Regions from separate parts of the Homo sapiens genome. Here region 2 is linked to region 1. The links are contacts of gene promoters, found by promoter capture Hi-C in blood cells and fetal thymus (Javierre and others, 2016). All regions are on one chromosome and are shown on one strand. Each heading gives the region's core, a stretch centred on a gene start or on the middle of the fragment in contact. The rest is flanking DNA. Distances are from core to core; before and after follow the strand shown. Region 1 holds the start of TULP4 (TUB like protein 4). Region 2 overlaps TMEM181 (transmembrane protein 181).

Evidence for each region. Contacts are between HindIII fragments. The CHiCAGO score rates a contact against its expected background, and 5 or more counts as called.
Region 2: a fragment that was not itself captured here is called in contact with the fragment with the promoter of TULP4 in region 1 in 1 of 17 cell types (endothelial precursors); the score reaches 5.2 in endothelial precursors.

The regions. Positions count from the first base shown.
Region 1 is chr6:158,310,304-158,315,694 of GRCh38, forward strand. It overlaps TULP4 (TUB like protein 4), which reads left to right and starts at 2,162. Exons shown (of 14, transcript NM_020245.5): 1 at 2,162-3,965. The coding sequence starts at 3,714. RefSeq lists an enhancer at 3,786-3,865. The HindIII fragment of the contact is 1,254 bases long and covers 1,215-2,468 here.
Region 2 is chr6:158,601,041-158,606,431 of GRCh38, forward strand. It overlaps TMEM181 (transmembrane protein 181), which reads left to right. Exons shown (of 17, transcript NM_001376852.1): 7 at 4,227-4,307. Among named protein-coding and RNA genes, the nearest start is that of MIR7161, 6.0 kb to the right of the region's middle. The HindIII fragment of the contact is 1,211 bases long and covers 2,516-3,726 here.

The sequences.
Region 1 (5,391 bases), core at 912-3,411:
GGGAGGTGCTACACTTTTTTTTTTTTTTTTTTTTTGAGACGGAGTTTTTCTCTTTCGCCCAGGCTGGAGTGCAGTGGTGCGATCTTGGCTCACCGCAACCTCTGCCTTTCGGTTTCAAGCAATTCTTCTGCCTCAGCCTCCTGAGTAGTTGGGATTACAGGTGCCCACCACCATGCTCAGGTAATTTTTGTATTTTTAGTAGAGACAGGGTTTCACCATGTTGGCCAGGCTGGTCTCGAACTCCTGGTGCTACATTCTTTTAAACAACCAGGTATCGTGAGAGTTCACTCACTGTCAGAAGACAGCACCAAGACATTCATGAGGGACTGCCCCCATGATCCAAACACCTCCCACCAGGCCCCACCTCTAACACTGGGGGTTACGTTTCAGCATGAGATTTGGAGGGGCCAAACATTCAAACCATGTCACATGGTATTCCATGAAAAAAGCAAGCAGTTCATTTTGCAACTTAAACTGTATAATACATGCTTTTTCCTGGGACTACCATGGTGCTTCAGTAGTCCACAGAAGTACTTTATGTGTACCTACTATTTTGGGACACAAGGGTATTAAAAACCATGTACTCAAGGGCTGATATTTAATAAAATTAATAATTTTTACTGCCGTATCAAAGATGTTCTTAAGTGAGGCTGGCTTTTTTTTTCTTTCTTTTTTTTAATCTATGACTACTGGTGCAGTTGGTACCTCTACCTTGATTAGTGTTAAAGAGCTTGCAGTTTGACCCACTGTTGATTTTGCACCATGGGTACAAATGTGAACACGGAAGAAGGCAAATTATGTCCTAGTATTATGATGAAAGTAGAGTCTTTTGCTGGGACTTGATGCTACAGGCCAGTAGTTCTCAAAGCCTGGTTCCCTGCCCAGCAGCATTAGCATCTCTTGGGAGCTTATTAGAAATGCGAACACCTGGGCCCTTCCCTTCCCTTTCAGTGTCCAGTTCCTGTGGGATGGGGCTGGGCCGCTTCAGCTGCCCCAGGAGACTGAGAGAGTCTGCTGAATTTGAGAAAGTCCACTCTGCTTTCTGGAAGGACTGGCGGGGCGGGAGGGCAGGGAGGATGAGTAAGTTAGGGACAGAGTGTTCTCGTGTTTGTAGAGGATGTGATGCAGCCTGGACTTCAGGCAGTAGGAAGAAGATGGAATGGATTTGCTAGAGACAGATTCTCTAGAACTTTATTGCTGGTAGACCACATAAAAGCTTAGAAAACAGCTGCGCTTTGCTCCGAGACCTGCCAGCCATCAGGGACGAATGAGTTTTAAAGGCCCTTACTGCTTTGTGTCTTGAGGGAATATCTTTTATTAATCGTGAAAAAATCAATCCAGATAACTTGCCTGAGTCATTTCAGTCTCCTTTTTGAGGATGCCTGCTTAAACAGCGACCATGGTCTCTGGAGGGGTAGAGTCTCACATTCGGAGTTCAGTCTCTTAGAAAGTACAGTTCAGTGTGGAAGAATGGCAGTTATGATTTCATTCAGATGTGCCCAGCTGCTGACAAATTGAATACAACGATCAGTGGCAGGCAGAACTCTCATTTGTTGTGTGTTGTCTTGAGTCTGGTGAGGTGTATCCTTTCACTATTGGATTTTACCATTCAGTGCAGTCAGTAGCTCCATTTGATGTAAGTGTAAAGATGGGTCTCTCATTTCAGTTTCAGCAATTATTCTTAAAACCTTTATTTTCCAGTGTTTTAAAGTTTTTAAATTTTATATCTTTTTTTTTTTTTAAACAGATTTGTAAGACTCCAGGGCCTCCCAGCCGTGAATAATCTGATGGTTCCTGAAATGACTGGGGAAGCAGACGCTTCGTATGGCAGTTGAAGAGTGTGTGTCTATGTGCATTTAAAACCTTCTTTCTGTACTTACACATTCACACGGGAAGACAGGCTCATTCTTGTGCACACTTGAGAGTTTTACAACTGATGAAAATTAATTTAAGAATCAGATGGAGCAACTTGACACCAGTGGGCTCAGGAGCCCGGGGAGAAAAATACATCACTAATGGCCAGTTTTCCATATGGTCTGCACGGGTAAAGAAAGTCTGCAAAAAGAAGAAAAAAAAATTTGCGCAGATTAAACCACAAAAATATTCTCCAGTTTAAAGAAGGAACTAAGTGAGAAGGTGACTGAGAAAGAAGTGTGATTTCAAACATTGCAGCGGCTCACACAGTGTTTGTTGCACTTTATTTTTCAGTGGGTTTGGTGATTTGGACGGATTAAAATTCTAGACTGAAAAGTAACTCCTACTGTGGTTATGGCTAGAGGAAAGCAAGTTCAAGTATGATGGGACAAGTTTGAATAATGAACTGATTCCTTTGCCTATCTTAATTAACTGTATTTGAGAAATTTTAATTTATTATTCCCCCCCTTTTTTCCTGCATCTATAGGATAATATTGTAAAATAGCAATTGAAACCAATAATTATTAAATAAATATCAAGGAAAATCCAAGCAAAGCTTTCTTTTTGTTGGACTAGTGGTGTGGTGTTTGGAGACAGTCTCTGAATGTGAACAGGAAAGCACCCATCAGCAAAACACTATCACTCTCTAGGGAGACAGCTGGGGGAATCTGACTCTGGCTTCTGCTTTTGTTTTAAGGGATTAACTTCCCTGTCAAGTCCAAGAAGACTTGCGTATGAGAAGATTACCTGATGGACTTAATTCTAAGATTAGCTTTTTTCATCAAGATGGAAAAAGATCTTTAGGAGCAGAAAAGGGGAGTGCTAACTGGGGGAGCGAGAAGGGAGACGAGCAAAAGAAACAAAATCTTGCCACGTGGCTCTGTTTTGTCAGCAAGAGGATTTAAGACTCACCCAGGGCAAACACTGGGACCACTGTAAGAGCGCTGGAACATTCTGCCTCTTGAGTGAAGGGGCCTTCTTTCTAGCCTCTATGGCACTGAGGGGTGCGCCGGCTGGTGGAGGAGCAGTCCGATGGAGCCCTGCGTTCCCCGGGGACACAGGGCCAAGCTTTGAGGTGGAAAGTTTCTGGTTCTGAAACAACAAGGAGAGAGTCTGTTTTTCTTCCTAAAATTTGGACTCTTGTCTGCACAAACTCTGGTCTGTTTTGCACGGTTTGTGTGCCTTTTTTTCCCTTTATGCAATCTTTTTCAGCTTTAGCAGCAGAAATTTGTCTAGTTCAGGAAACATGCTAGAGGGTGGCTTCAGAAGGAAGATGATCCTGTGTATTCTGTCTCTGCATCCGAACTTTTGAAGAGAAAAATTCGAGCTAGAGGGATTCTTAAAGCCTTAAGTTACTTGAAATCTATGTATTTGCAACCCTTTGTCTCTGGAATCATATTACACTAAACTGGAATCTCAGGCTGAATGAGAATAACCAAGTGGAGTAAAAAGAAGAAAACCGTTTCTTGATCACCACTTAATTAACGATGCTCTTTCTCCAAAGGATCAGCACGTTCTTCCTCTGAGAACTTGAAAATACAAATGGACCCCATGTTTTTTTAAGCATTACCTTTTCTTAGAAGACTGCCATCATCTTTTATAGAGGAATTTTTTCACTATGCATTCGGTGGATCTTTATAAAATACTGACCTTCTAATTAGATTCAGGTCAGTCTTAATTAAAGGGGGAAAAAAGCAACGCAAGCCAACCACAAAAACACATATACCAATGAAAGAAATTGGTTTAAATTTCACAGCATTAACATTACTTTTTAAGTAAAACAGTTCATTGAAGAAAGTATGTATGCAGCAGTGGAACATGGGCCTGTGCTTTGCAGCGATTCCAACATCCTGTGCCTGTCCTGGAAGGGGCGTGTCCCCAAGAGTGAGAAGGAGAAGCCTGTGTGCAGGAGACGCTACTATGAGGAAGGCTGGCTGGCCACGGGCAACGGGCGAGGAGTGGTTGGGGTGACTTTCACCTCTAGTCACTGTCGCAGGGACAGGAGTACTCCACAGAGGATAAATTTCAACCTCCGGGGCCACAATAGCGAGGTGAGCTGTGGTTTTGTTTCACTTTTTGGTCACTTCCAGTGGTGTTTTTGAGCCCCTTGTGGACTTGAAACTTCCTTCATTTCAGTTTCATAGACTTGCTGCCTAGTGAGACTTCCCATGCTGTGAGTTCTGTCTCTTATTCTCTGGCAGAAAAGATGCTAAGATGGACATAGTTCACAGTAGGCTGCGCCTCCCCAGGTGGGTCAGTTGTCCCTGGCACCCCTGCTGTCCTCTCCCTGCACTGTCTCTCTTAGAGGGTCCGGGCAGTGGGAAGACGCCCAGCAGTAGGGAGGCCAGGGCGCTTTCTAACCAGGGTGGGGGGTTAAATTAGATGATCCTAACCAACTTTTCGTGCTCCAAGTCTACATGGCAAAGAGTTACCCCCACCCCTGATGTCCCACTGACAGTGTGAAAAATGAAAGTGGTGCTGCCTTTACCTTGCACGGTTAACATCTACGTTCCTTTGGTGATGGCTTAACACTTGGCTTGTATGTTTTCGTACTTGGAGGTAAAGAAGTAGTTAATGGACAAAAACCATAGTTTTTCACATGTATAGGGTATATTATATTGAGGCTATTATGCCATATATTTGTACATGTAGATTCCTCTGGGCTTCTAAAATATAAGCAGTGGGATTATGAAATTCATGCAACCAACATTTATTGAGCAATACTTAAGTGTTAGGCATTGTGTTTTAAAGAAGAGCGTGATTGGTAATTTCTTGCAAAGTTTTGCTTGTATGGCACCTTCGCAATATTCATGTTTTACTCTTCACTAGCTTATTTGGGTATTTTTAAAATGAGGAATCCATGACTATTTCAGGCATCTTAAAAATGTCATTAAATGGTTATTAAATAGCTACTGTAAAGGAGCAGGAATTTTTTCAAGTATAGGTCTTAGTCCATTTGTGCTACTATAACAAAATATAGACAGGGTGGCTTATAAACAGTAGAAATTTATTTCTCACAGTTCGGGAGGCTGAAAGTCTCAAGATCCGGGGCTAGTATGGTAGAGTTTTTTATTTCTTCTTGGTGGAAAGAGGATGAGAGTGTCTCTGAGGCCTCTTTTATGAGGCCACTAATCCCATACATGAGGGCTCCATTCTCATGACTTAATCACCTCCTATAAAGACCCTACCTCTTATTACCATCACCTAGGGAGATTCACCATACAAATTTTGGGGGCACACAAACATTGAGATCATAGCAATATAAACATTCAGTAAGGTGCACTAAACTTAACTCTCGATTATTTTTATATGCAGTCACCCATGTAAGCGCCAACAATATCAAAATATAGAGCATTTCCAGCACCAGTTACGGGTACTTGGTGCTCCTTCCCAGATTTTACATTCTGTCTTAATCCATTCCTGCTGCTGAAACAAAATATCTTAGACTGGGTAATCCATAAACAACAGAAATTTATT
Region 2 (5,391 bases), core at 1,871-4,370, 290 kb after region 1:
CTCAATATTATGTTTATATCAACACTCCCCCCAAATGCTCAAGTCGTTACTTTGATAATTCTATAAATGATATAATGTTATAAAATTTAAATGCTGTAGCAATAATCATAATAGTTATGTGATGTTTTGGGTTTATAGTAGTAACTATTGTTTACTGAACTTTTGCTGTTTGCTGGGCATTGTGCTTAGTTTTTAATACGCATCATCTCATTAAAATGCTATGATAGGCCAGGCATGGTAGCTCACGCCTGTAATCCCAGCACTTTGGGAGGCCAAGGCAGGCAGATCACCTGAGATCAGGAGTTCGGGACCAGCCTGACCAACATAGTGAAACTTTGTCTCTGCTAAAAATCAGAATTAGCCGGGCATGGTGGCACATGCCTGTAATCCCAGCTACTCAGGAGGCTGAAGCAGGAGAATCGCTTGAACCCAGGAGAGGGCCAGGTGCAATGGCTCACACCTGTAATCCCAGCACTTCGGGAGGCTGAGGCAGGTGGATCACAAGGTCAGGAGTTCAAGACCAGCCTGGCCAATATGATGAAGCCCCGTCTCGACTAAAAATACAAAAATTAGCTGAGAGTGGTGGCGTGCACCTGTAGTCCCAGCTGCTTGGGAGGCTGAGGCAGGAGAATCGCTTGAACCTGGGAGACGGAGGTTGCAGTGAGCCGAGATCCCGCCACTGCAGCCCAGCCTGGGTGGCAGAGCAAGACTGTCTCAGAAAAAAAAAAAAAAAAACAAGGCTAAAAGGATACAAAAATTATGTGAAGTAGGTTACTAGCATCCCCATTTTATGGAGGAAAATCTGAAGTTTCTTGAGATTAAGTCATTTGCCCAACTATTAATGGCAGGAGCTGGAATTTGAACCTGAATCACTGTGATCTCCACTTGCCCATTACCATCTATTGTTAGTGGTTGGTTTTTGTTTGGCAGCTTTATTGAGGTATAGTTGACACACAGTGAAACCTGGGAAGCCGTTCCCACAATCAAGATCATAAGCATCCCCTCACCAGCCATCACCCCTAAACATCTTCTTGTGCCCCTTCCTCCTGTCCTTTCCCATCCCTGGGAAGTCACTGATCTGTTATTTGCATTTTTTTGAGAATTTTATGTAACTGGAATTATACAATATGTACTTCTCCAATATGAATTGTTTCACGTAGCATAATTATTTTGAGCTTGATCGATGATGAGTGTGTCCATAGTGATATTCTAGTATAAATGTAACAGAAATTGTTTATTCATTCACCTGTTGATGGACATTTGAATTACTTCCAGTTTGGGGCTGTCACAAAGAAAGCAGCGATGAACATCTGTGTATAAAGCTTTGTGTGGACATATGCTTTCATTTCTCTTGGATAAATGCTAGAAATGGAATGGTTGGGCCATGTGGTTAAGAAACTCACAAACTGTTCTGCAGAGTGGTTGTGTTACTTTATGTTACACCAGTAGCGTGTGAGGGTTTCAGTTACTTCATATCCCGTCAATGCTCGGTACGGTCAGTCTTTTGAATTTTGGCTGTTCTAATCGGTGTATAATGGTATTTAATGGTTTTACATTGCAGTTTTAATTTATGTACTTTTTTTTTTTTGAGATGGGACCTTGCTCTGTCGCCTAGGCTAGAGTGCAGTGAGATGATCATGGCTCACTGACCCTGGCCTCCTGAGTAGCTGTGAATACAGGCGCACGCCACCATGCTGGCTAATTTTTTTATTTTTTATTTTTGTAGAGACAGGATCTTGCTCTGTTGACCAGGCTCACCTCAAACTCCTGGCCTCAAACTAGCCTCCCACCTCAGCCTCCCAAAGTGTTGGGATTACAGGTGTGAGCCACTGCACCTGGCCTAATTTACATACTTTGAAAATGTTGGTCACTGTCTTCCGGCTTGCATTTTTCTGACAAGAAATCTGATGTCCACCTTATCTTTGTCCTTATCTTCGTCTAATGTAATAATGTTCTTCCCTCTCCCCACCCCCTTTTAAGATTTTTCTCTCACGGTGCTTCTTGTACTTTTCCTCGTTTCTTGTGCTTGGCCATTGAGCTTCTTGGATTTGTGAGTTGATAGTTTTCATCAAATCGGAAACATTTTGGCCATTATCTCTTCAAATACTTTTTTTGTCCTTCTGGTCCCCTGACCTCCCAAATTCAGGAACCCCAAATTAGGCCAGTAGGCCAGTGGTCCCCAGCCTTTTTGGCATCGGGGACTGGTTTTGTGGAAGACAATTTTTCCATGGACCAGGGTTGGTTGGGGATGATTTGGGGACGACTCAAGGGCATTTCATTTATCATTAGATTCTCGTAAGGAGCGTGCAGCCTAGATCCCTCGCCTGCACAGTTGACAGCAGGTTCGTGCTTCTGTGAGAATCTAATGCCCTGGCCGACCTGAAGAGCTCAGGCGGTAATGCTCGCTGGCCCACTGCTCATCTGCTGCTGTATGGCCCGGTTGCTGACAGGCCACGTGGCCAGTATTGGTCTGTGGCCTGGGGACCCCTGTATTAGGCCACTTGAAGTTGTCCAAAGCTTCCCGATGCTATGTTGATTTTTTTTCAGGTTTTTTTTTTTTTTTTTTTAGTTTTATTTTAGATAGCTTCTATTGCTGTGCCTTCACATTTACCAATCTCTGTCGTGTCTAATCTGTTGATCATCTTCCAAGTCTTTATTTAACACAAAAATCTTTCATCTAGCTGCTTTATTTCCTTATCTGCTAATTTTGTCATCTGTGATTTCTGGGCCAGTTTTGATTCGTTGTTTTTTTCCTCATATGGTTTGTATTTTCCTGCTTTTTGGTGTGTCTGGTACTTTTGGTTCAATGCCAGACATTATTGATTGCTAGGTTTTATATCTTATAAATATCCCTGAGCTTTGTTCTGGGACGTTGTTAATTTCCTTGGAAATGGTTTGATCTTTTCTGGCCTTGCTTTTCAACATTGCTAGGTGGGGCCAAAGCAGCATGAAGTCTTGAGGCTTATTTTTTCCTAACGCTGAGGCAAAAGCATTCAGCATATGCTACCCAATGCCCTTTGATGGTGAGTTTCTTCTCTGTCTTGTGGGTGCCAGGCACTGGCTTTTTGGGAGGTTCGTTCTCTCTCTGTACAGCTCTCCTTTCCAGCACTCTGTCCTGTGGATTCGGGCCAGCCCTGTCTCCCTGGACTCCCAGCCGTGGCTCTGCCTGGGTTCCCCTCCATGATGTGGGGCCACCAGGGGCACCCCTTGTTGTTTCCCATCAGTCAGAGGTTACTACCCTTCATTGCTTCCTCAGGTCCAGTGTCTTAAATCATCCTTGTGCATGCGTGCATGCGTGTGTGTGTGTGTGTGCGTGATGTTTTAGGTAAATCTGTAACTCTATTTGTACTGAAGTGGATTTTTTAAATTGCTCAGATGACTTTAATTCAATGCATCAGAATGATGGGGCTCTCTGGCCCTGTGAGCACAGTGTTCTGGGGTCTGGTTATGGACCTGGCTCGTGCTTAGGTTGGTGGTGGCTAGCCTCTGCTCTGCTGTCAGCAGCAGTGCCCCTGTCCTCGGCTCCATCAGTGCACACTTGGCACACGTGGGACTGTCCAGTCAGCATGAGAACGGACTCCTTCAACTGCAGCTCACTCTTCTGCTTTCACATTCATACTTAAAGGTTTTACTTAAACTTTGTAACAACATTCTAGTTGCACTTTTACATCTTTTAAAACTTTCTTTTGATGGAAAGTATGACTATTTCTAATAAAGAGATTGACAAGCTTGATTTTTGATGTGAGATATAAGATCCGAATGCTTTTATGATTATAAAATAATTTGTCGGATTTATCCATGTAACAACATTTGAAATTATTTTTCGCTCTTGGTAATTAAGATTTTTTTATGTCTGTGTCCTTTGATAAAAAAGTAAACTGTACTAAATGTTAAAATTTTGGAACATGTAGGATGTTCCAAAATTTTAACCTGCATGGTGGCAGGCACCTGTAATCCCAGCTACTCAGGAGGCTGAGGTAGGAGAAGTGATTGAACCTGGGAGGCGGAGGTTGCAGTGAGCGAAGATTGCGCCACTTCACTCCGGCCTGGGCGATAGAGCGAGACTCCATATCCAAAAAAAAAAAAAAAAAGTGTGTGTGTGTGTGTGTGTGTGTGTGTATGTGTATATATTGTCTCATCTAGAGATAACTATTAGTAATCTGGTGTATTTTCTCTTAGATGCATATATATTTTTTTCAAATTGTTTTCTCCACTTTCTATTTTAGTGGAAGACTTATAACCCTGCCTTCTCCCGGTTGGAAATCTGGTTCCGGTTTTTCTTTGTGGTGCTCACCTTCATCGTCACTGTGAGTACCATTCGCCTGATGGACCGCAGCAGATCCCAGCCAGGAAGAAGCTGGTTTATGCAGTTAGGATCTTCGGTGCAAGCCACATGGAGATTGATCTGAACTCAGATGCTCCATCCAGTGGGCTGTGCTGATATTACAACTCTGTGTGTCTGCCGAGATGCTGCCGTGCAAGAAAAAATGATGTGGTATCATGTATTCAGGATTTCTGTAGAGTGCACGTCCGTGACTTTTAAGTAAATGTTGATCATGTGCGGTGAAAAGTGCCATTTCACCTGTGTGGAAGGAAGCTGCCTTACTTGAATGAGCTTCTCTGAGTGCAGATGCAGCATGCTCTTGGGTTTTTATATTTTATATTTTTATAGTTGTGCCAGTCCTTTGCGTTTTTGGGCATTTTCAGGAATAAGGCCAAAGAGAAGTGTTTTGGAAATGCAGGCATTGGGCTCGTTTGGGATCTGAGGTTTGTGTCCACAAACCCACATGACTTTGGGGGAAATGCTTACCCTGAGAAGCCCAAGGGAGCCCCCCCAGAGCCCCAGTCTGCAAAGATAAGAATTGGTAAATTGGAGGAAGGGAAAGTGTGCTTCATTTAGTGATCTGTTGCCGCCCGAAGTGTGGCGTTCTGCCTGCATCAGCTGCTTGTCCTTGTGCGGGATGGTGGGGAGGTGACATTTAGGAAATGTGTCCACCCAGGAACACTTGGTATTTTTCAGAGTAACTGTGCATGGAAGGACACAGGCGCGTGCACATGTGAGGGGGTGCTCTGCTGGAGCGAAGGGCGTGGGCGCTAGAGCCACAGGGAGCTGGAGGGAAGGGCGTGGGCGCTAGAGCCACAGGGAGCTGGAGGGAGGGGCGTGGGCGCTAGAGCCACAGGGAGCTGGAGGGAAGGGCGTGGGCGCTAGAGCCACAGGGAGCTGGAGGGAAGGGCGTGGGCGCTAGAGCCACAGGGAGCTGCAGGTTGTGGTGCTTACGCCCAGCCCAGGGCCTCCAGGATCTCAGGGCTCCCGCAGTGAGCTTCATAAATGAAAGTAGAAAGCTGTTATTTGTGTCTGGGCAGCCAGAAACACTTGCTTCTTCTCAAAGG